Linked DNA regions of Homo sapiens: regions 2, 3, 4, 5, 6 and 7 are each linked to region 1. Evidence: promoter capture Hi-C in 16 types of primary human blood cells and fetal thymus (Javierre and others, 2016). All regions are on one chromosome and are shown on one strand. The core of a region is centred on a gene start or on the middle of the fragment in contact, and the rest is flanking DNA. Distances in the headings are between cores, read along the strand shown.

Region 1 (2,700 bases), core at 174-2,673:
TTAATTGCAACATTCTGGAATGAACATAGAAAAATAAATTATATAAAATATATTTATAAAGTATAAATTTATAAAATATTTATAAAATATAAATTTATAAAATTATAAAAAATACAGAGGCTGAAAGGTTAGACCGACTTTTCCACAAACATTAAACAGACGGCATCCAAGAGATGGCATCATTTCATTCCTGATTATCATAGTCTTTTGTACCAAATCTAAATTCTAATAAGATGCATTTTTTAGGTGACTTGGAAACTTGTTTAAATAAATAAATATATTAAGCTTCAAATCAGATTAGAAGGAAAGACATGTTTTTACATGAATATAAGACTTGTACCTATAGCATGTACGTATATTGATATGAGCATCAAGGAACAACTCAAAATGATGATTATTAACTATCAGGGACCATATCAAACCGGTTTTTTCTAATTGCTGATTGCTGCTACAAATGATAGTTACTGAAGCATGACACCAAAAGAGCAAATAAACTTCTATTCGTGTCAAAATAGGTGTAATAAACATCTTCCTTGGAGAACCATTAAACATTGCTCCCTTGTAAAGGTGAATTGGGGAGGCTAGAGTGGAGGGTCCTTTTGGTCTTCACGCATTTGGTATCAACGCGACAAAAATCACAATGATCACAATAGTGAAAATAATAGCAGCTAACATTTGGGCATTTACTGTTTCCTAATCACTGTTGTAACCGCTTTACATGCCTACTTCAGTTTAACACTCTCCATTAAAAGGAGAGATTATCCCCATGGGCCAGGTCTGGGGAAAAGCATGACTTAATTTCTTTTTCATTATATTCCACCCTTTTATCCTTGGGTACTGAATGTCTAGGTTAACAGGGGTCACTAGATTTGGTAGATTAAGTCAGTAACTAGCTTCGCTTTGAGAATATTTTAAATCAGTCATCATACAACATAACCCCAAAACTCATTCCTTTATTGAGCCCCATGCATATACACACTGTTCAGCACAATATGCGACTTTTTATTTATTTTTGAGACAAAGCCTCGCTCTGTCGCCCACGCTGCAGTGCAGTGGCGCGATCACGGGTCACTGCAACCTCAAACTTCTGCCCAAGCGATCCTCCCACCTCAGCATCCGCAGAAGCAGGGGCCGCACAGGCGCGCAGATGTGTGACTTTCTAAGGTCCGGCCGCCCAAAGCTACGCCGACCAATCCAAGTAGCGAAAGTCGCTTTGGCCCTGGCCCGTTACCTCCGCGTCCTGGGAAGTATCAGCCTTTACCAGCTACCGGAAGTAACTGCGCACGAAATCTCCCGCGGGAGCTAAGCCTCTTCGACAAGAATTCTATAGCGCGAGCAAATCAGTATCTCGCGAGAAATTGAAGAGGAAACGTGAGAATGAAAGTGGATGCCCGCGAATCCCGGAAGTCAGACTGTTTTTTTCAGTTCCCTGGAGGCTTTTTGATACTGATTCGCGTACACCTGTTGTTTGAAAGCTCTCAGCGGGACAATGCTGACCCAGGTGAGACCTGGGGCCCGGCTGGGTACCTCTATCTGAATGAGACGCTTCTGGACGCGGCCGAGGTGGCGAGGGAGGGTGCTGGGATGGGGGAACATCACCTTTGTTCGTCCCCTCGCGAGATCAGCGTTTCTTTGGCTTTACTGTCAAGCCCTGAAATAATGCTGAGTGCTGTAATGCTGAGTCCCTTCCGTCCAGCTCGCAGACTTCTAGTACCCACTCCCTCCAGCTCTTGGAGGGCTGAGATTTGTTTTCTGTGTCACAGCGGTATCCCGGGAGCTTAGAACAGTGTCTGTTACATAGTAGGCATTGAATACACGTTTCTTGGATGAATAAATGAAACAATTGCAAGGAAGTTCACGATGAAATTGGAGTGACTTTTCTCCCTAAATTAACTTTTCACTTTAAAATAACGTTGCAAAGATAGTACAGAGTTCTCAAATACCTTTCACCAATTTTTCTTGATGTCAGCATCCCCGGTGACTTTTTAGTTTTGTTTAGATACAAGTTCTTGCTCTGTCACCCAATCTGGAATGCAGCTGCTCCATCATAGCTCACTGTAACCTTGAACTCCTGGGTTCAAGCGATCCTCCAGCCTCAGCCTCCCTAGTAGCTAGGACTACAGGAGCAGGCCACTACGCCTGGCTAATTTTTTTTTTTTTTTTACTTTTTGTAGAGACACGTCCTTGATATGTTTTCCAGTCTGGTCTTGAACTGGGAAATGATCCTCTCGCCTCGTCCCTGCAAAGCATGAGCCAGCTGGAGTACAGTGGCGCGATCTCGGCTCACTGCAACCTCCACCTCCTGAGTTCAAGCGATTCTCCCACCTCAGCCCCCTGAGTAGGTGGGGTTACAGGCGCCCACCACTACTCTCGGCTAATTTTTGTATTTTTAGTAGAGACGGGTTTCCCGTGTTGGCCAACCTGGTCTTGAACTCCAGACCTCATGTGATCCTCCCGCCTCTGCCTCCCACAGTGCTGGGATTACAGGTGTGAGCCACCTGCCTAGCCCCTACAGTGACTTTTTAAAATTAATTTTGTTCCTTTTGACAGTTTCTTCAGCCCCAGTAGATTCTGTTTTAACCTTTGCTTCACATTTGGAAAATAATTATTTGGAAAAACCTTGCTTTTTCATAATTAGATAATGTACAGTTTTGGTACATGTAAGGTATTGCTTCCATTTCAAGAACTAGTAATTATCCA
Region 2 (2,700 bases), core at 3-2,502, about 43 Mb after region 1:
TAACACCAACTTTAACAGCAAATAATTTTTTTTTATGACAAATTGCGTTTTTTTTTTTTGTTTTTTTTTTGTCTGTAAGTGTCCAAAACTATCCTATGACTTATACTCCCGGAGCACGATTCCCTGCAATGTGAAGAGAATCGACAGATAACATTTCAAATGTGGGTAGATGGGGGTGACGTGACAATCCTAAAACCTGAAAATTTCTTAGTACCCATACCATACAAGAAGAACCCAGTTCGGACCCTGCAAACGGGGCTCAGGTCCAACTCCAAGCACTCTAGTTTCCCACCCCGCCCCCACCTCGAGAAAGGAGGGAAAACAACTTTTATTGGCCTCGTCTCTCAGGGGACTGGCAAACTAGCGGGGCAGTGCTTAGGCCTGGACACGTTTCACAAGGAGGCCCCCGTCGGGGGCTGAGAGGGCAGATAGCTGGAAAGCCCAGCATTGATGCATCTCCCCCAGCCGCCACCCCGCTGCCCCACCCCGCCAACAAGAAGCCTGGGCCAGCCGCCCCGCCGAGCGACCCCCCAGGCCCCTCCGCTGAAATGAACTCGTTGTCATGTGACGCCGCCGCCGCTAAAACACCGCAGAAACGCAGGTCGGCAGGCGGCGGAAGGCATTCGCGCCAGCCCGCGTCGGCCCGGCCCCGCTGGGCGCGGGCGACTCCCGAGAGCCCGGGCGGGGGGGGGCGGAGGGCGGGCTTGGCGGCGGGCCCGAGCGCGCCACAAAGGCTTCCGCGCCTGTCGCCGTAGTGCCCGGGCGGGCGGGGGCAAAATTTTTGGTGCCCGCGGGAGGGGTGGCAAGCGACGAAGACGCCGGGGTGCCCACCGCGCCCACAGACGTCTCTCCGGGCACTCGGACGGCCCACGACCGCCGCACCCCGCACAGGCCCGCGCGGCCTCCCTCCCCCGCACGGGGCCCGCGCCCGGCCCGCCCGCTCGCCGCTCGCGCTCTCTCGCTCTCGCCCGGCCTCCATCTTGGATCGGCGCTTCCAGCCCCCGCGCCGCTGCCGCCGCATTCCCCCTCTTTCCCGCCCCCCGCCGCCGTCGCCGCCGCCCGCACTCACCTCAGCTGCCCATCCGGGCGCCGCCGACCATCGACCTAGTTTCCCCCCAAAAGTCTCCGGTGTGTTATTCCCGATGTGGGGGGGTTGTTACGGGGTGGTCGCCGGGGGTTCGGGAGCGGGGGCCGCGCCTTCAACGGAGCTGCAATCCTAACCCGCCATCTGGTGGCATTTTCCACACGCCAATGGCGCCGCTGCAGACTTGGGTCCGGACCGCCCTCTGCTGGCCGCGGTGCTCACTGCCTTGCTGACGGGACGGGCCTGCCCGGAAAGGGGAGGGAGCTGAGGCGCGAGCTAGGGGCCGCGGCAGGGGCGCGCGCAAACGCTTTCCAGTGGGGATTGCGCGCACGCGCACCAGCGGGGCGGGAAACGTGGCCGCTGCGTGGCGGCCCCGCCCCCACACGGAGCGCTCGCGCAGTTCAGCCAATCGCGAGAGGCGTAGGCTTCTGGATAAGGGCGCTGTGGACGGTTCTTGGGCCGCCCGCGGCTGGCGGAAGGACGGCCACGGTGGCGCCTGCGCGTCCGGCTCGCCGAGTTGCCGCCCGCCATTTTTGGAGCTTCTTGGAGATCTAGGCAGGAACCCGCCCCGGGTTCCTTCACCGAGGCTCCTCCCTAGGTCTCAGGGCCGGCGCTTTCCTCTGTTCCCGCCCGGCTCCTGCTGCCCCCATCCGCAGCTCTCGAGACGCCCTGCGGAAACCCGAGGGTGAGGCCGCGCAGATCCCTGCTCCTACTTGGATTTAGCAAGGGCCTCAGAGCTTAGCATTGTATTCGCGATTTACGGCTGACAAGCGCTTTCACCAGGCAAGAGTGAAAAGGTTTCAAAAGGACTATTGGGGACTTCCCTCGCCATTAATCTAGACGAAACACCGCCGGCCCTAGGCCGATTGGCGTCATCCTGCCTCTGTAAAGCACATCTTTCCGTGGTGTCGGCTTTGCATAAGGCGGCAGCATTGGCTAGTTTGTGAGAGGAGAATATAACTAGACTGAGAAGATAGACTCAGCTGTGAAAGTGGATTTCTCCCTCCACAACCTAGGACTACTTTCAGTAGCTCTGAAATACACATGAGAATCTTAGCCTTCTAGATGCCAAAAGAGAAATAATCAGTAAGGTGAAATCATTAACAAACTATTTATGTTTAACGTCGCCTCTTCCCTGATCTCCACCTGCCCGTCCGTGGCCATGGATCCCTACCTTTCACCTGCTTACAACTTTTCACCACAAAAGTGAATCCTTACTCTCCTGGATCATTAGCCCCATATATGACTAACTTCTCTATCGCTATAGCCAACTCTATTTCAGTATGGAATCGCTCAACTACTTTATAGTCTTAAGGGCCTGTCTCCAGTAGGTTACCCCTATTTGTGTTTTCTCTCTCAAGGGTTTGCAAGATGTGTGGCTTTTCGCTGGAGGAAGTCATAACTGACCAGATTGGATATGAATTCGTGACTGGACTCCTACTTATAATTTTCTTGCGTTTTCTTCTAATCTCTGGCTGATCTCCTATTTTCCACAAAGACTGTTTCAAGCTTTCCATGTTGTTAAAGATGCCAGTCCCAGTCCATACTAATAGATAAATTCATCCAGTTTCCTGGGCTCAGAGCTATGGGACTCCAATTCCGGTTTGACCTTGCCT
Region 3 (2,700 bases), core at 122-2,621, about 45 Mb after region 1:
GGTAAGTACTAGCACGAATAGGAACCTAGTTTCTCCCTTCAAAGGGGTTACAATTTATAAGCAGGAAAGGTTATTTATGCACAAATAATTGAATACCAGGCAGAATATGAGTACCTTCTGAGAGAAGTACCAGTAAAATACTCTGAAGATAAAATATCCAGCTAGGGAGATAAGTTTCATAAAGGAGGTAGAATCTGAGGTGGACTTTGAGGTGAAGAGTATACGGCATGTTTGAGAACCAAAAAAGGTCCAATTTGTTTGGAGAATGGTATTCATTTAGAAGAGCAGTGAGGGAGAAGGTTGAAGAGGAAGCTTGGGGCTAGAACCTGAAGATTTTTAAATCGGGAGAAATTGAGCTTTGAGTCAAGCAGTTGGGACTTACTGGGCCAGATAGGAAACCTGTTTATATCTGTACTCTAGATGATTTGTCTTTTGTTGATGTGTATGACACACTAAAAGAAGTTGAAACAGACTATATAAGTTTGGTGGAAGTGAGTGTGGAAATAACAGTAATAAGGAAAAATTTTTATTAAATGCCCACTATGTACCTACCTGCCATTGGAATATGTACTTTGCATACTGCAATTCATAAAGTAATACTAAAAGATAGGCATTATTTTCTCCAATTTATAGATGAAAAACAGAGGCTTAAATTGATTAAGTAGTATACCTCATGCCACATTGCTCATGACTGACAGACCTGAGATATGAACCTAAGTTATATTTAATGATACTAACATCTTTTTTTACTGGATTGTAATTTCTCCTTTTTTCCCTGAGAAGCTAGAATCAACTGGATACACAAATGCGTTTGTTGAATTGAGGGAGTGGGAGGCATCCTATTGCTGATGTTTTTAATCTAATGAACCCAGAAGAATATCTTTAATCAGAGGAAGATGTGGAGCCAGTGAATGATAGTGGAGCCAATGAAGGAACAATCAGAGAAAGAGAATCAGGAAAGAAGAAAAAGTGAAAGAAAAAGAAGTGGAGTCAGTGTAGGAACAATCAGAATAAGAGACCCAGAATAACTTTATGTCACAGAAGGAAAAGAAAGGGAAAATGTGACTGGGTGACTAGCATCTTGATAGCTTTAGAGAATTTAAGGAGGCTTAGTATTTGCCAAAACTATTGCCAATGAAATAAATGATTATGAGGACACTATCAGCCTTCAAAAAAGTTGAGTAATGGTAGGGAAGGCAAGTTTACAAAGGGTTTAGAAATTATTGGATGATAAAAAAAGTAGAGGTCATCAGTATAAACTATTTTACCAAGCGATTAGTGAAGAAAGGCAAATGTTGATGTGAGAGGTGTCTCACTGTAAGTGGGTTGACTGTTCCTGCATTTAGGGCATGCTTGATTTAATTATGATAGGCTCCAAATGGATGCAGGCCACTAAATGGACCTTTGTAGTGTGAGTAGGAACTAGCCAGGTAAATGTCAAGAGAGTATATCTAGAGCATTTGACTTTTCCAGAGAGCTAAGAATAGTTCAGCATGCCTGGGCCAGAGAGTAAGAAGGGGGAGGATTGAGAAATGGTATTAGAAAGATAAATGAGATTCAGATTCTGAAGATCCATGATAGCCAGTTAAAGGAGTCTGGACTTTATCCTGTAGGCTCTGGGGAACCATTTAAGAATGTTAAGTAGGGTAATCTTCATGCTCCATTACTGATACATCATCACATGTCAGTTACTTTTCCTGTTAGAGGAAATGTTAAGATTATCAGCCTGATTTCTGTATGAGGTGAATGAAAGCAAAAGTTTTGACCACATAGTCAAGTAGCAGCCAGCAGCAGACTAAATTGAGTTGGAGATCCACTGAACTGTCTTCCAAGAAAAATGGAGTTTGTGGTTGCCCAACACTTAGAGGCAAATGTTGGACTGATTGCAAAAGCATTGACCAACCACAATGTGCTGTACACTTCATGTGACTACCTTCTAAACATTTTAAATTTGTTAAATTTACTCCATGGGAGTTTGATGTAGAATTCCAGATGCAGAGGATGCTAACTTTTGTTTACCTGAAAGTGTAAAAATCCAGATTATTAGTAATGTGTTTGACTTGTGTTAATTTTACCTTAAAAATTACATTAACCTTATGTTTTTCTAATGAGTATTTTTAGAGGAGTCAAAGTTTAAAGTGAGCTTTGAATGAAACAAAGGAGGTGATTTCATAGATGGGAATTGCTAGACATTGTAAATATGGCAGTAGACTGGGGAGTTTGTTAGTGATCTCCACAGTTCTCCATCTGCGGATTCGTTCTCTACCCCACTCTTCACTCATGGGGTACAGACCCCATGGTAAGTCATGACCAGTGGGCTCTGGGTACTTCTTTGCCCCAGGGTTGTCAAGTGAAGTGAATCTCTGGGTCTTAGTTTTATTACCTACAAAATAATAATGGACAGCATTAGCTCCAAAGTCTCTTCCTGTTGTAAGCTTTTTTATACTTTTGAGTCTGTGATTCTATGTTCTTGTCAAACGAAGTGGATGAGGGGAGTGCCTGCAGGGTGTTTTAATGGGCATTTGTCTTTACTTAATTCAAGTGCCAGTGTAGTAGCGTTTCCCACATCTTTCATAGCATGCATTGTTCTTTTTCTCTGGAAGCCACCTTCCATCAGCAAATTTTTGTTGAGATTTTGTTGTGCTTGGAACAATGCTCTACAAACCTGAGGCTCCTGGGGCTCAGGACAAGGAGGCTGGT
Region 4 (2,700 bases), core at 148-2,647, about 50 Mb after region 1:
GAGAGGTGAAAGACATTAAGTGTCTAAGATGTTTACACACATACCTTATCTATGTAAGGCTGTAAAGATTTGTGATATAAATTTCCCCATATGAAATGGCATGAGAGTATGGCTTTCTTCTTATTGTTGGATAGTTTCACTAGTTTACAACAGTTTACCCATAGAATTATTATCTTCTAAAAAATGTTTATAAACATCAAGCAACAAGATAATGCTAGTAGTACCTTTATCTTCTACTCTGATACCCTTTCCTCGTCGTCACATTTTTACTTCACTAAGATGTGTGTATTTTAGTGCCAGGTATACTGTAATCCTATGAAAAAAAAAATGGAGGAGAGGAACTATGTTGACTTTTATATTGTGTAAATAGGAATCTTGAAGTATTCAAAAATTGAGTTGTTGAAGTAATTGGCAAGATCACAAGTTATTGTTGATAAATTTTCCATCGTATTTGTATTTAACCTATTGAATTTACAGAAAGGGAGAGTGTGTGTGTGTGTGTGTGTGTGTGAGAGAGAGAGAGAGAGAGAGAGAGAGAGATGCTGTCTGGATTTGTTGAAGTTCAGACAGAATCTCTGACTTTATAACCTGGAAGTAGTGAAGATGGTCTTGTTTGTAGGAAATGGAGAAAGCTCTTTGTTGTTTAGGGGGACGAGCTGGGAATGTTACTATTTGTGGAACTTCATTTGCCTTAAATTTTCTGAATCATGGTTTTAATAGGATTTACTTTATTTTTATAGTATATGACTATCATTAAGCTATGGTTTTTAAGCTTGCTTTTCTATTCTTATAAATGATATAATACATGCAAAGCACTTCACGTAGTATCTGGTAAATTGTAAGCATTCAATAAATGTTAGATATTGAATAAAGTAAAGGTAACTTTAACTGCCTGGTGCATTTGATCAGCTGTTTTGAAGCTCATTTGGGGTATGGATCACCTTAAAAATAATGGTGATTTTGAATATCAACCATACTTTAGTTATACTGATTTTTTTCCATTATTACTTTGATATAATTTTTTGTAGAAAACTTTCAGTGAATGTTGTTTTTGCCTTTAAAAGTAATTTATATAGGGAACAACATATTTTTTAAGTTCACTGGTGAAAATGTAGTTTTTGAAGTAAACAAAAGATTATTTAGCTAACGGTACTTTAGAAAAGTTGATAGATTTTTACTATTGGACTCACTTCCTTCTTTATAAAATGAAGCTATTGGATTAGATCCTTTTCAGCTCCAACATTCTGGGGCTTTCAAACTCTTGAGAAATTTGGTTTTTATTGTTGTTGTTGTTGTTGTTGTTTTCTTTTGAACTTTAACGAGTGGGTTTAATTAAGCTCTTCTGAAAGGGGATTGGGAGTGGGATGCTCTCTTTCAAGCCTTTCTTCCTACCCCCAAATTTTTACACACATGAAATAAAACAAAAACCAAAACCTTCCTTTAAGGGGAAATATGTGGAGTTAAGGGTAGCCAAGGATCTTGTGAGGCAATAGTGTGCAAAACGATGTTCCAGACTTTGTTTCAGGAGTTTCTTTTCAAACAACAGTTTAAGGAACCACCTACTTCTCCTTTACTGGCTGTTTCTTTAGTAACTGTCTTCCTAGATTTCGGCTTCAGAACACATTAGAGATGGTTCTTAGTAGAGCAGTTTTTAATCTAATAAATTTTGTAAGTTTTTGAACTTTTTGTGGCTTTTCATCTGAGAGTCCATTGACACTTTTGATTGCTCTTCAAGATAATCAAACAAAAATAATAAAACAATTTTGGATACCTCAAGTCCAAAAAGGGGGTGGGGACTTTTATTTTAGAAAGACCCTAGAAACAGACAATCGCCCTTAAGAAAGCATCACTTCAGAATCAGTAGAGCAAAGTCATTTGACATCCTGGACTAGTTTCTGGACATATCCATATCTTTTGACCATTTTGAATTTTGTCCTTTGTATACTTTTGTCTAGTCTTTGAACTATTCTTTATATTTCCATTGCATAGGTTAGCACATATTCTCACACATGTTGGGAAATAGAAAGCTTGTTTTTATAGGTCTTCTGGACATGGGTGTCCAGCTTCTCAGGGGATTGTCAGACTGGTTTTTATTCTGTTTTTTTGGTTTGTGGGCTCTGGCTTACTTCCTATTTTTCTGTCATTGCTGCTGACTCTTCACAGAATGCTATTTTTTTCTTTCTTCAGCTTTCACTCATTACCCATATGTTAAATTATGGCCTTATAATTTAAATCCTGCATTTTTCTAATACATTTGATGAACTTTAGTAAATGGTTGTAACATGACTGAAAATTATTAGTGTAAGGTGAGGTTAGTATAAGGTGATAGGAAGTTGTCTGTGAAATTCTTGAGAGCTCTTTGAATTTATAACCAAAAGAACTGAATTTGTCTGTTCATTTTACAATCTGTTACAAGGCATTTGGATTGAAAGGATGGAAAGATGGCCGTAGGAAACAAGTAGCTTACTATGTAGGAGGTAGGTACACAAATAACTAATTATTATACAATCCATTTAATAAGCCCTGTACAAAAGGTATCTATATCTATCTATCTATCTATATATATATATCTATATCTATATATATATATATATCTATATATATATATATATATCTATATATAGATATATATATATCTATATATATATATATATATACTGTCACATGACTCAGGGAGGGACATCTCATTGTATATTGATA
Region 5 (2,700 bases), core at 196-2,695, about 45 Mb after region 1:
TCACGAGGTCAGGAGTTCAAGACCAGCCTGGCCAAGATGGTGAAACCCTGTCTCTACTAAAAATACAAAAATTAGCCAGGCGTGGTGGCACATGCCCATAGTCCCAGCTACTCGGGAGGCTGAGGCAGGAGAATCGCTTGAACCTGGGAGGTGGAGGCTGCAGTGAGCCAAGATAGCGCCACTGAACTCCAGCCTGGGTGACAGAGCGAGACTCCATCTCAAAAAATTAAAAAATAAAAAATAATGAGCCAGGCATGGTGGCCTTTAATCCCAGCACTTTGGGAGGCTGAGGCGGGCAGATCACAAGGTCATGTTCAAGATCAGCCTGGCCAACATAGTGAAACCCCATCTCTACTAAAAATACAAAAATTCTCTGGTGGCGTGTGCCTGTAGTCCCAGCTACTCGGGAGGCTGAGGCAGGAGAATCACTTGAACTCAGAAGCCAGAGGTTTCAGTGAGCCATAATCATGCCACTGCACTCCAGCCTGGGTGACAGAACTAGACTCCATCTCAAAAAAATAAAAATAAATAAATAAATAAGATAATGGATTATAAGATAGTATTTTCAAGCCTCATGGTGACCTTACATCCAAAAACATACAATGGATACACAAAAAATAAGAAGCAAGAAATTAAAACATACCACCTAAGAAAAATCACCTTCACTAAAAAAAGATAGGAAAGAAGGAAAAAAGAAGAGAAGACCACAAAACAACCAGAAAACAACAAAATGACAGTAGTAAGTCCCTATTTGTCAATAACATTGAACATAAATGGACTAAACTCACAATCAAAACACTAGAGTGGCCGAACTGAAATACACTTCACCTATAAAGACACATATAGACTGAAAATTAAGAAATGGAAAAGGATATTACATGCCAATGAATCCAGTATAGCAGGAGTAGCTATACTTATATCAGACAAAAGAGATTTTAAGACAAAAACTGTAAGAAGAGACAAACAAGGTCATTATATAATGATAAACAGGTCAATTCAGCAAGAGTATGTAACAATTGTAAATATTATACACCCAACATTGGAGTACCCTGATATATAAAGCAAATATTATTAGAGCTCGAGAGATAAATCTCAATTCAATAATAGTTGAAGACTTCAACACCACCCTTTCATCAGACAGATCATCCAGACATAAAATCAACAAAGAATCATCTGACTTAATCTGCACTATAGAACAAATGGACCTAACAGATATTTACAGACGTTTCATCCAATGGCTGAAGAATACACATTCTTCTCCTCAGCACATGGATCATTCCCAAGGATGGACCATATGTTAGGCCACAAAACAAGTGTTAAAACATTAAAAACAAACTGGAATAATATAAAGTATCTTCTCTGACCACAATGGAATAAAACTAGAAATCAGTTAACAGGAGGAATTTTGGAAACTATTCAAACATATGAAAATTAATCAATAGGCTCCTGAATCATCAGTGGGTCAATGAAGAGATTAAGAAGGAAACTGAAAAATGTCTTGAAACAAATGATAATGGAAACAGAACATACCAAAACCTATGGGATACAGTGAAAACAGTACTGAGAGAAATTTATAGCTTTAAGTGCCTACATGAAAAGAAAAACTTCAAATAAACAACCTAATGAACTAGAACTAGAAAAGCAGAGCAAACCAAACTGAAAGTAGAAGAAATAATAAAGATTACAGCAGAAATAATGAAATTGAAACAAATAAGACATAAGAACAATAAAACAAAAAGTTGGTTTTTTGAAAAGATGTAGAAAACTGATAAACCCTTAGCCAGACTAATGAAGAAAAAAGAGAAAAGATTCAAAATCAGAGATGAAAAAGGAGACATTACAACCAATACTGCAGAAATACAAAGGATCATTAGAGCCTACTAGGAGCAACTATATACCAATAAACTAGAAAATCTAGAAGAAATGGATAAATTCCTAGACACAAACAACCTACTAAGATTGAACCATAAAGAAATCCAAAACCTGAACAGACCAATAACAACTAACAACATTGAAGCTATAATAAAAAGTCCTCCAGCAAAGAAAAGCCTCGGACTCCATGGCTTCACTGCTGAATTCTACCAAACATTTAAAGAATTAACACCAACCCTACTCAAACTATTCTGAAGAATGGAAGAGGAGGGAATACATCCAAACTCATTCTATGAGGCCAGTATTACCCTGATACCAAAACCAGACAAAGACATATCAAAAAAAAAAAAAAAAAAGAGAGAGAGAGAGAAAAACCTACAGGCCAATATCCCTGATTAATATTGATGCAAAAATCTTCAACAAAATACTAGCAAACCAAATTCAACAACACATTAAAAAGATCATTCATCATCAACAAGTGGGATTTATCCCAGGGATGAAAGGATGATTCAACATATGCAAATCAATCAATGTGATACATCATTATCAACAGACTGAAAGACAAAAACCATATGATCGTTTCAACTGATACTGAAAAAGCACTTGATAAAATTCAACATTCCTTCATGATTTAAAAAAAAAACCCTAAAAAAACTAGGTATAAAAGGAACATACCTCCACATAATAAAAGCCATGTATGACAGACCCACAGGCAGTATCACACTGAATCGGGAAAAACTGAAAGCCTTTCCTCTAAGATCTAGAACAGAACAAGGATAAAAAATTGACAAACCTTTAGCCAGACTATGAAGGAAGAAAGGAAAAAAG
Region 6 (2,700 bases), core at 134-2,633, about 47 Mb after region 1:
GTTCGCCTATCAGATGTCTAACGGGGCGTTACAGGCAGCCCTCAAGTGCTCTGAGGATCTTCAGCAGCGGCTCCAAGGAAGCCGCGGGCCGGGAGCAGGTGGGAAGGGCGACTGCGCGGGGCCACGACCTCCCCGGGTCTCTGCAGACCGTTGGAGACGGAGCAGCAGCGAGGACTAGAGCAACACAAGGCCGGATGTGTTCTGAGCCGGAAGAGGAGTGTGGGATAGGCCGAAAGGGGTGGGGGGTGGGGGGTGACAGTTTGGGTCTACGTGGCAGCAGGCGCACCCCAGACGCGCGCGCCCACCCGGCGATAGCATCAGCGGCGCCAGGGCAGGCACATGGCCCCAAAGCACCCACACTAGGGCCCGGGCCGGCCAGGGCTGTGTTCCTGGGCCTTGGCGCGCCTCCGCGCAGTCCCTGATCGCAGGTCAGGAGTTGTGAGGCACGCGAGAGCCCTGCGCGTCTGTGGTCGTGGTCCCTGCGCGCTCGGCTTGTCCGTGCCCGTGGCTTTGCACGCCGAGGGCTCTGCAGACTGACCAGTCTCTCCGGGCTGTGCTGGGCCTCCCAGAGGCAGTGTCCTCTCAGCAACCCCGCGCGGTCGCCCCCGCCCAGCCGCACCGCAACACCGCCTCCGGGGCGGAGCTCCAGGGCTCCTGGTGCAGGGCCGGCCGAACTGAGACGGGGCGCGGCGGGGTCGGCAGGGGGCGCTGCCGGGCCCCGCGAGCTCCCCGGTGGCGGGTGCGCGCCGCCCTCGCCTCCCCTCGCGCCGGGAGGAGCTGGCGGCGAGCGCCGAGCCGGGCGCGCAGCGACGGAGCTGGGGCCGGCCTGGGACCATGGGCGGTGAGTGCGGCGCGGGCCTGGGCCGGGGCGGTTGCCGTTGGGGCCGAGCAGCGCAGAGGTTCTAGGCGGGTGGGCGTCCAGGGTCCGAGGTTGGGAGACTGAGGGGGTCCCCCTAACTCGCCAGTGGGAGAGGGGCGGGAAGGCTGGGGGCGCTTCGAAGCGTCGGGTCCGAATCCCGCGACTAAGCCTCCTCCTTTATCCCCGCGCTCGCCCCTGAGCCTAGGACTTGCGCCCTCTTTCCTGCCACTCCCCCCGTGCGCCCGGTGTCCCAGCCCCGGCGCCCGCCCCATAGCCCCCTTCTCCCAGAGCTGGCGCCGTCTCACGCCCGCTGCGAACCCCCGGCTCTGTCTCCAAGCCCTCGCCCCCCGCAGCCCCGCACTCTCCCGCGGAGCCCGCCTCCACCTCGCCCCCGCCCTTCCAGCCCTCTCCCGCACGGCCCCCGCACTCCCGCCGCTGGATTCCAGCCGAGATTCAAGCTCCCGGGATCCCCCTTCCCGGGCGGTCCTGAGCCGGCTAGTCTCCAGGTAAGGAGGCGGCCGCAACTTCGCGGCCTTTCCCGGAGACGGGGCTGGCTCCTCTTGGCAGCCACCTGCAGCCTGACGCCTCCGGGAGTCCCGGGCCTGGCCACGGGGCCGCCCGAGCGCAGGTTAACATTCCTGGATGCGCAGGTTAGGACCGTGTGGTGTAGACCCACGACGTTGCTTTTGCTGGTGAACTTGCCTATGTCCTGATCTTTTAAATAAGCTGGGTTTGTCACACACACACACACAGAGAGAGAGAGAATGGATTTGCTTAGGGTAGGTTGCCTGCTTTGCAGCCGCAGCTGCCTTTTAAATTGTACCTGTGGATGGTAAAGGATTCACGGTGCAGGACGTGGAGCCATATTTTCCCGCTTCGGCTGTGAGTTCAGCGATTGCGAGGGGGCTCTGTAGTGAGTGAGGTTATCACCGCCTGGCTAGCCAGTGTCTTTGTGGAAAGGCAAGGATCCTTTGTAAGCATTCAACAAGTAAAATCAGGAGAGATGGGGAATCAGATCGAGCTGTGAATGGGGAAGTGTAGGGGGGTGGATGGGGGATCGGAGAGTGCTCCACAAATGGAGCCGTTTGTTGATATTTGCAGAAGGCCCGTGGGTGTGAAGCTGGCAGTGCGGAGCCCACCCTTTCAAACGGGATGCGACTGCGGTCGGGCTTGGCAGTAACTTACCCTCCTCAGAGGTGTTGGTGCCCAATCGGGACATCTGTGGGAAGGGGATTTATAGCAGATGGATCAAAAGGCCTCGGGCGCGGTGGCTCACGCCTGTAATCCCAGCACTTTGGGAGGCCGAGGCGGGCGGATCACCAGAGGTCGGGAGTTCGAGACTAGCCTGACCAACATAAAAACCCCGTCTCTACTAAAAATACAAAATTAGCCAGGCGTGGTGGTGCATACCTGTAATCCCAGCTACTCAGGAGGCTGAGACAGGAGAATCGCTTGCACCTGGGAGGCAGAGGTTGCAGTGAGCTGAGATTGCGCCATTGCACTCCAGCTTGGGCAATAAGAGCAAAACCCTGTCAAAAAAAAAAAAAAAAAAAAAACCCTCGTGGTCCCTGGAGAGAGGTGAAGATGCACGGGACAGCCTGAAAGCCAGTGTATGAATCTGCCCCATCCCTTCTCCTGGCTTTCATTAAGTCTTGGATTAAATTAATTGCTTATCTCAGAGAAAGGATGTGTAGGGGGAACTTCTCTGTTAGGGATTGGCTCCTGGCCAGCCCATCCTCACTGATGCCTTGGGAGGCTGCGTTTGGGCACCAGGAACAGCGTGGGCCACCTGGCCTTTGGAGCACAGCACTCCGAGTGTTTGTGGAACTGCAGTATCTGTA
Region 7 (2,700 bases), core at 42-2,541, about 45 Mb after region 1:
TTTTGTATTTTTAGTAGAGCTAGGGTTTCACCACGTTGGCCAGGCTGGTCTCAAACTTCTGACCTCAGGCAATCCGCACCTGGCCTCCCAGAGTGCTGGGATTACAGGTGTAAGCCACTGTGCCCGGCTGTTTTTTTTTTTTTTTTTTTTTGAGACAGAGTCTTGCTCTTCGCCCAGGCTGGAGTGCAGTGGCTCAATCTCAGCTCACTCCAACCTCCACCTCCCAGGTTGAAGCGATTCTCCTGCCTCAGCCTCCCAAGTAGTTGGGACTACAGGCATGCACCACCACGCCCCTCTAAGTTTTATATTTTCAGTAGTGACGGGGTTTTGCCATGCCTGCCTCAGCATCCCAAAGTGCTGGGATTACAGGCGTGAGCCACTGAGCCCGGCTGTTTCTTTTTGTGTGTGTTTTTTTTAATGAAACAGGGTCTCGCTCTGTTGCCCAGGCTGGAGTGTAGTGGTGCAATCACAGCTCTCTGCAGCCTCTACCTCCCTTCAGGGCCCAAGCAATTCTCCCACCTCAGCGTCCCAAGTAGCTAGGATTACAGGCCTGAGCCGCTAATTATTTTCTTTTCTTCTTTCTCATTCTCTCTCTCTCTTTTTTTTTTTTTTTACCATGTTGCCCAGGCTGGTCTTGAACTCCTGGACTCAAGAGATCCGCCACTCTGCCTCCCAAAATGCCGTGATTACAGGTATGAGCCACCACACCCAGCAATGCTGCAAGTCTTATGGGCCAGGATAGTGTAATCTAAGAAATGATATATGAAGAACTCTCACAATAGGGAAGAGGTGAGGAGTGTCCAGGCAGAGAGAAGAGCATTTGCAGAGGCCCTGGGCGAGAAGAAACCTGCATCCTTTAAGGACCTAAATGAAGCCAAGCAGGCAGAGGCTAGATCACACATGGGGGCTTCATGCCCACCTTAAGTAGTTTGGGTCTTTAAAAAAGGAATGAGACTCATAAAGAGGTTTTAAGGAGCGAATGCTATTGCTGCCATGAACAGATATTCCTTCCCCATAGCTGCAGAGCAGGCACAGGGCTGTTTTTGCCCGCCAGTATGTCCCCACCGTCTAGCCCAGAGCGGGGCCAGCGGCCGGCTCCTACCCACACTTGCTGGCAGGAAGACTGGACGCACTGCGGGACATGGTGATGTCCTGGGTTGGGGCTGAGGAAGGCCTATGCGCGGAGGGTGCGGCCTTCGGCTAAGGCAGAGGACCAGGGTTGGGTCCGTGGCGGCGGGAGGGGTGGCCTCCTGCGCTGGTCGCCCCAGGGGACCTGAGAGGCGCGACAAACAGTCGGCGCGTTTGGTACTCGCGCCTGCAGAGCTTTCAACCTCCGCGCCGGCTGCGCCTGTTTCTCGGCCAGGGGAGCAAGGCCACGCGGCCTACGCAGCCGAGTCGGAACCAACCGGTTGTTTGGTGAAACCTACCCCAGAGCCTCCCGCGGCCCACAGAGCACAGGTGAGGCAGCAGACCGGGTGGGGTCGGTGTCGCGCCTGCGCCCGCCCGGACGCCTCGGGCCCGCCCGCTCCGCACCCTGGAAACCCCTGCACTCAGCCCCCCGGCGTCCCCACGCTCTCGGCCCTGCTGCGCCGGCGGCGGCCATCTCTGGGCGGCGGCGGCGGGCGGTGTTTGCGCGGTCGGTGAGACCCGCGCGGGTGAGACGCTGGGTGAGTTCCGGACGCTTCCAGCCGGCCCGCCGGTGATCCCAGACCTCGGGGCGGGACGCGGCTCCCGCTCACCGCCGGCAAAGGTGGAGGTGCGGCGGGGCGCGGGGCGCGGGGCCAGCCCGGGGCGGTGCGGGGGCGTCCCTGCCTAGCGAGGCCCTGCCCCGCGACCTGCCGCACCCTCCTCCGGCCTGTTCGCGACCTCTAAAGATAATACTTCTCACTGTCGAAAACGTGGAACAGAAAGCAAGGAAGCAAGCAAAGCAGCCGTGCCGCTGCTCCCCAGAGACAAGCTGCGTTAACATGAGGGTGTATATTCTTCCAGATGGTTTTTCCTTGTAACATGAGCGGGGCTTGTTTTTGCAGAACCTGCATCATAAAGTGCTGAAACTCTCTCTCTCTCTCTCTCTCTCTCTCTCTCTCTCTCTCTCTCGACTCTCTCTCTCTCGACTCTCTCTCTCTCTCTCTCGACTCTCTCTCTCTCTCTCTCTCTCTCTCGACTGTACATTCCTGTGTGTCAGGTTGACTACCTCATCCATCCCTGACTCTTGGCATGGCTTTGGACTGTGATTTACTAAATGTAGTTTCTCCCTGATGGTGAGCGTACAAGTGGTTTTCAGTTTTTAGTTATTGCAAAAAGTAATTCATTGAGCATCGTTGTATCTGGGTTTTTGAGCGTGATCATTTCTGTAGAAAGAATCGCACAAGATTCGTTCTAAAACAAGATAGAATCCACGGTCTATACCACAAGGCTTCTGGTATAGATTGTGAAATGGCCCTCAGAAAAGTTATTCTCCTTTTTGTACCTCCAGTAAGTAGCATTTGGGAATACTTGGCTCGAGGAGCTTCCTGAGTGATTTTACTGGAGACCCCCCTCACTTCATAAGGGGCCGGCCCGGAGATGAAGATGTCAACACTTGAGTGTGACTTGCATTATTGGCTGGCCCTACCTGGGGGCCTTTGCTGAAAAGGGAACCATGAGCATCTTAGTAACTACTATCATCTAGTAATTTTTAAACTGACTTCGGTTTATCTT

Evidence for each region. The method cuts DNA at HindIII sites, captures the fragments that hold promoters and counts their contacts. A CHiCAGO score of 5 or more calls a contact.
Region 2: the fragment with the promoter of STAG1 here is called in contact with the fragment with the promoter of NSUN3 in region 1 in 4 of 17 cell types (non-activated CD4 T cells, naive CD8 T cells, total B cells and 1 more); the score reaches 20.5 in non-activated CD4 T cells.
Region 3: a fragment that was not itself captured here is called in contact with the fragment with the promoter of NSUN3 in region 1 in 1 of 17 cell types (total B cells); the score reaches 5.1 in total B cells.
Region 4: a contact is called between a fragment that was not itself captured here and the fragment with the promoter of NSUN3 in region 1, in 2 of 17 cell types (non-activated CD4 T cells and total CD4 T cells). The highest score is 8.0, in non-activated CD4 T cells.
Region 5: a fragment that was not itself captured here is called in contact with the fragment with the promoter of NSUN3 in region 1 in 1 of 17 cell types (non-activated CD4 T cells); the score reaches 7.2 in non-activated CD4 T cells.
Region 6: a contact is called between a fragment that was not itself captured here and the fragment with the promoter of NSUN3 in region 1, in 1 of 17 cell types (total B cells). The highest score is 5.2, in total B cells.
Region 7: a contact is called between the fragment with the promoter of FAIM here and the fragment with the promoter of NSUN3 in region 1, in 2 of 17 cell types (total CD8 T cells and naive CD8 T cells). The highest score is 6.7, in total CD8 T cells.

What each region holds. Positions count from the first base shown.
Region 1 is chr3:94,061,638-94,064,337 of GRCh38, forward strand. NSUN3 (NOP2/Sun RNA methyltransferase 3) reads left to right here and starts at 1,424. Exons shown (of 6, transcript NM_022072.5): 1 at 1,424-1,501. The coding sequence starts at 1,490. It overlaps DHFR2 (dihydrofolate reductase 2), which reads right to left and starts at 1,279. Exons shown (of 2, transcript NM_176815.5): 1 at 1,109-1,279. RefSeq lists an enhancer at 1,318-1,557. The HindIII fragment of the contact is 2,538 bases long and covers 284-2,700 here.
Region 2 is chr3:136,751,126-136,753,825 of GRCh38, forward strand. STAG1 (STAG1 cohesin complex component) reads right to left here and starts at 1,253. Exons shown (of 34, transcript NM_005862.3): 1 at 1,070-1,253. STAG1-DT (STAG1 divergent transcript) reads left to right here and starts at 1,546. Exons shown (of 1, transcript NR_185911.1): 1 at 1,546-2,700. RefSeq lists silencers at 577-956, 1,277-1,506 and enhancers at 698-1,629, 1,517-1,836, 1,630-2,561. The HindIII fragment of the contact is 7,208 bases long and covers 1-2,591 here.
Region 3 is chr3:139,392,589-139,395,288 of GRCh38, forward strand. All of the region lies in intron 1 of COPB2-DT (COPB2 divergent transcript), which reads left to right. Among named protein-coding and RNA genes, the nearest start is that of COPB2-DT, 4.1 kb to the left of the region's middle. The HindIII fragment of the contact is 2,123 bases long and covers 311-2,433 here.
Region 4 is chr3:143,976,046-143,978,745 of GRCh38, forward strand. The region is part of intron 1 of DIPK2A (divergent protein kinase domain 2A); the gene reads left to right. Among named protein-coding and RNA genes, the nearest start is that of DIPK2A, 5.6 kb to the left of the region's middle. The HindIII fragment of the contact is 1,255 bases long and covers 771-2,025 here.
Region 5 is chr3:138,582,252-138,584,951 of GRCh38, forward strand. The region is part of intron 2 of CEP70 (centrosomal protein 70); the gene reads right to left. Among named protein-coding and RNA genes, the nearest start is that of CEP70, 11 kb to the right of the region's middle. The HindIII fragment of the contact is 4,704 bases long and covers 1-2,700 here.
Region 6 is chr3:141,231,071-141,233,770 of GRCh38, forward strand. PXYLP1 (2-phosphoxylose phosphatase 1) reads left to right here and starts at 755. Exons shown (of 6, transcript NM_001037172.3): 1 at 755-841. RefSeq lists a silencer at 494-873. The HindIII fragment of the contact is 5,995 bases long and covers 1-2,700 here.
Region 7 is chr3:138,607,480-138,610,179 of GRCh38, forward strand. It overlaps FAIM (Fas apoptotic inhibitory molecule), which reads left to right and starts at 1,292. Exons shown (of 6, transcript NM_001033031.2): 1 at 1,292-1,458. RefSeq lists a silencer at 1,380-1,839 and an enhancer at 1,940-2,029. The HindIII fragment of the contact is 4,797 bases long and covers 1-2,700 here.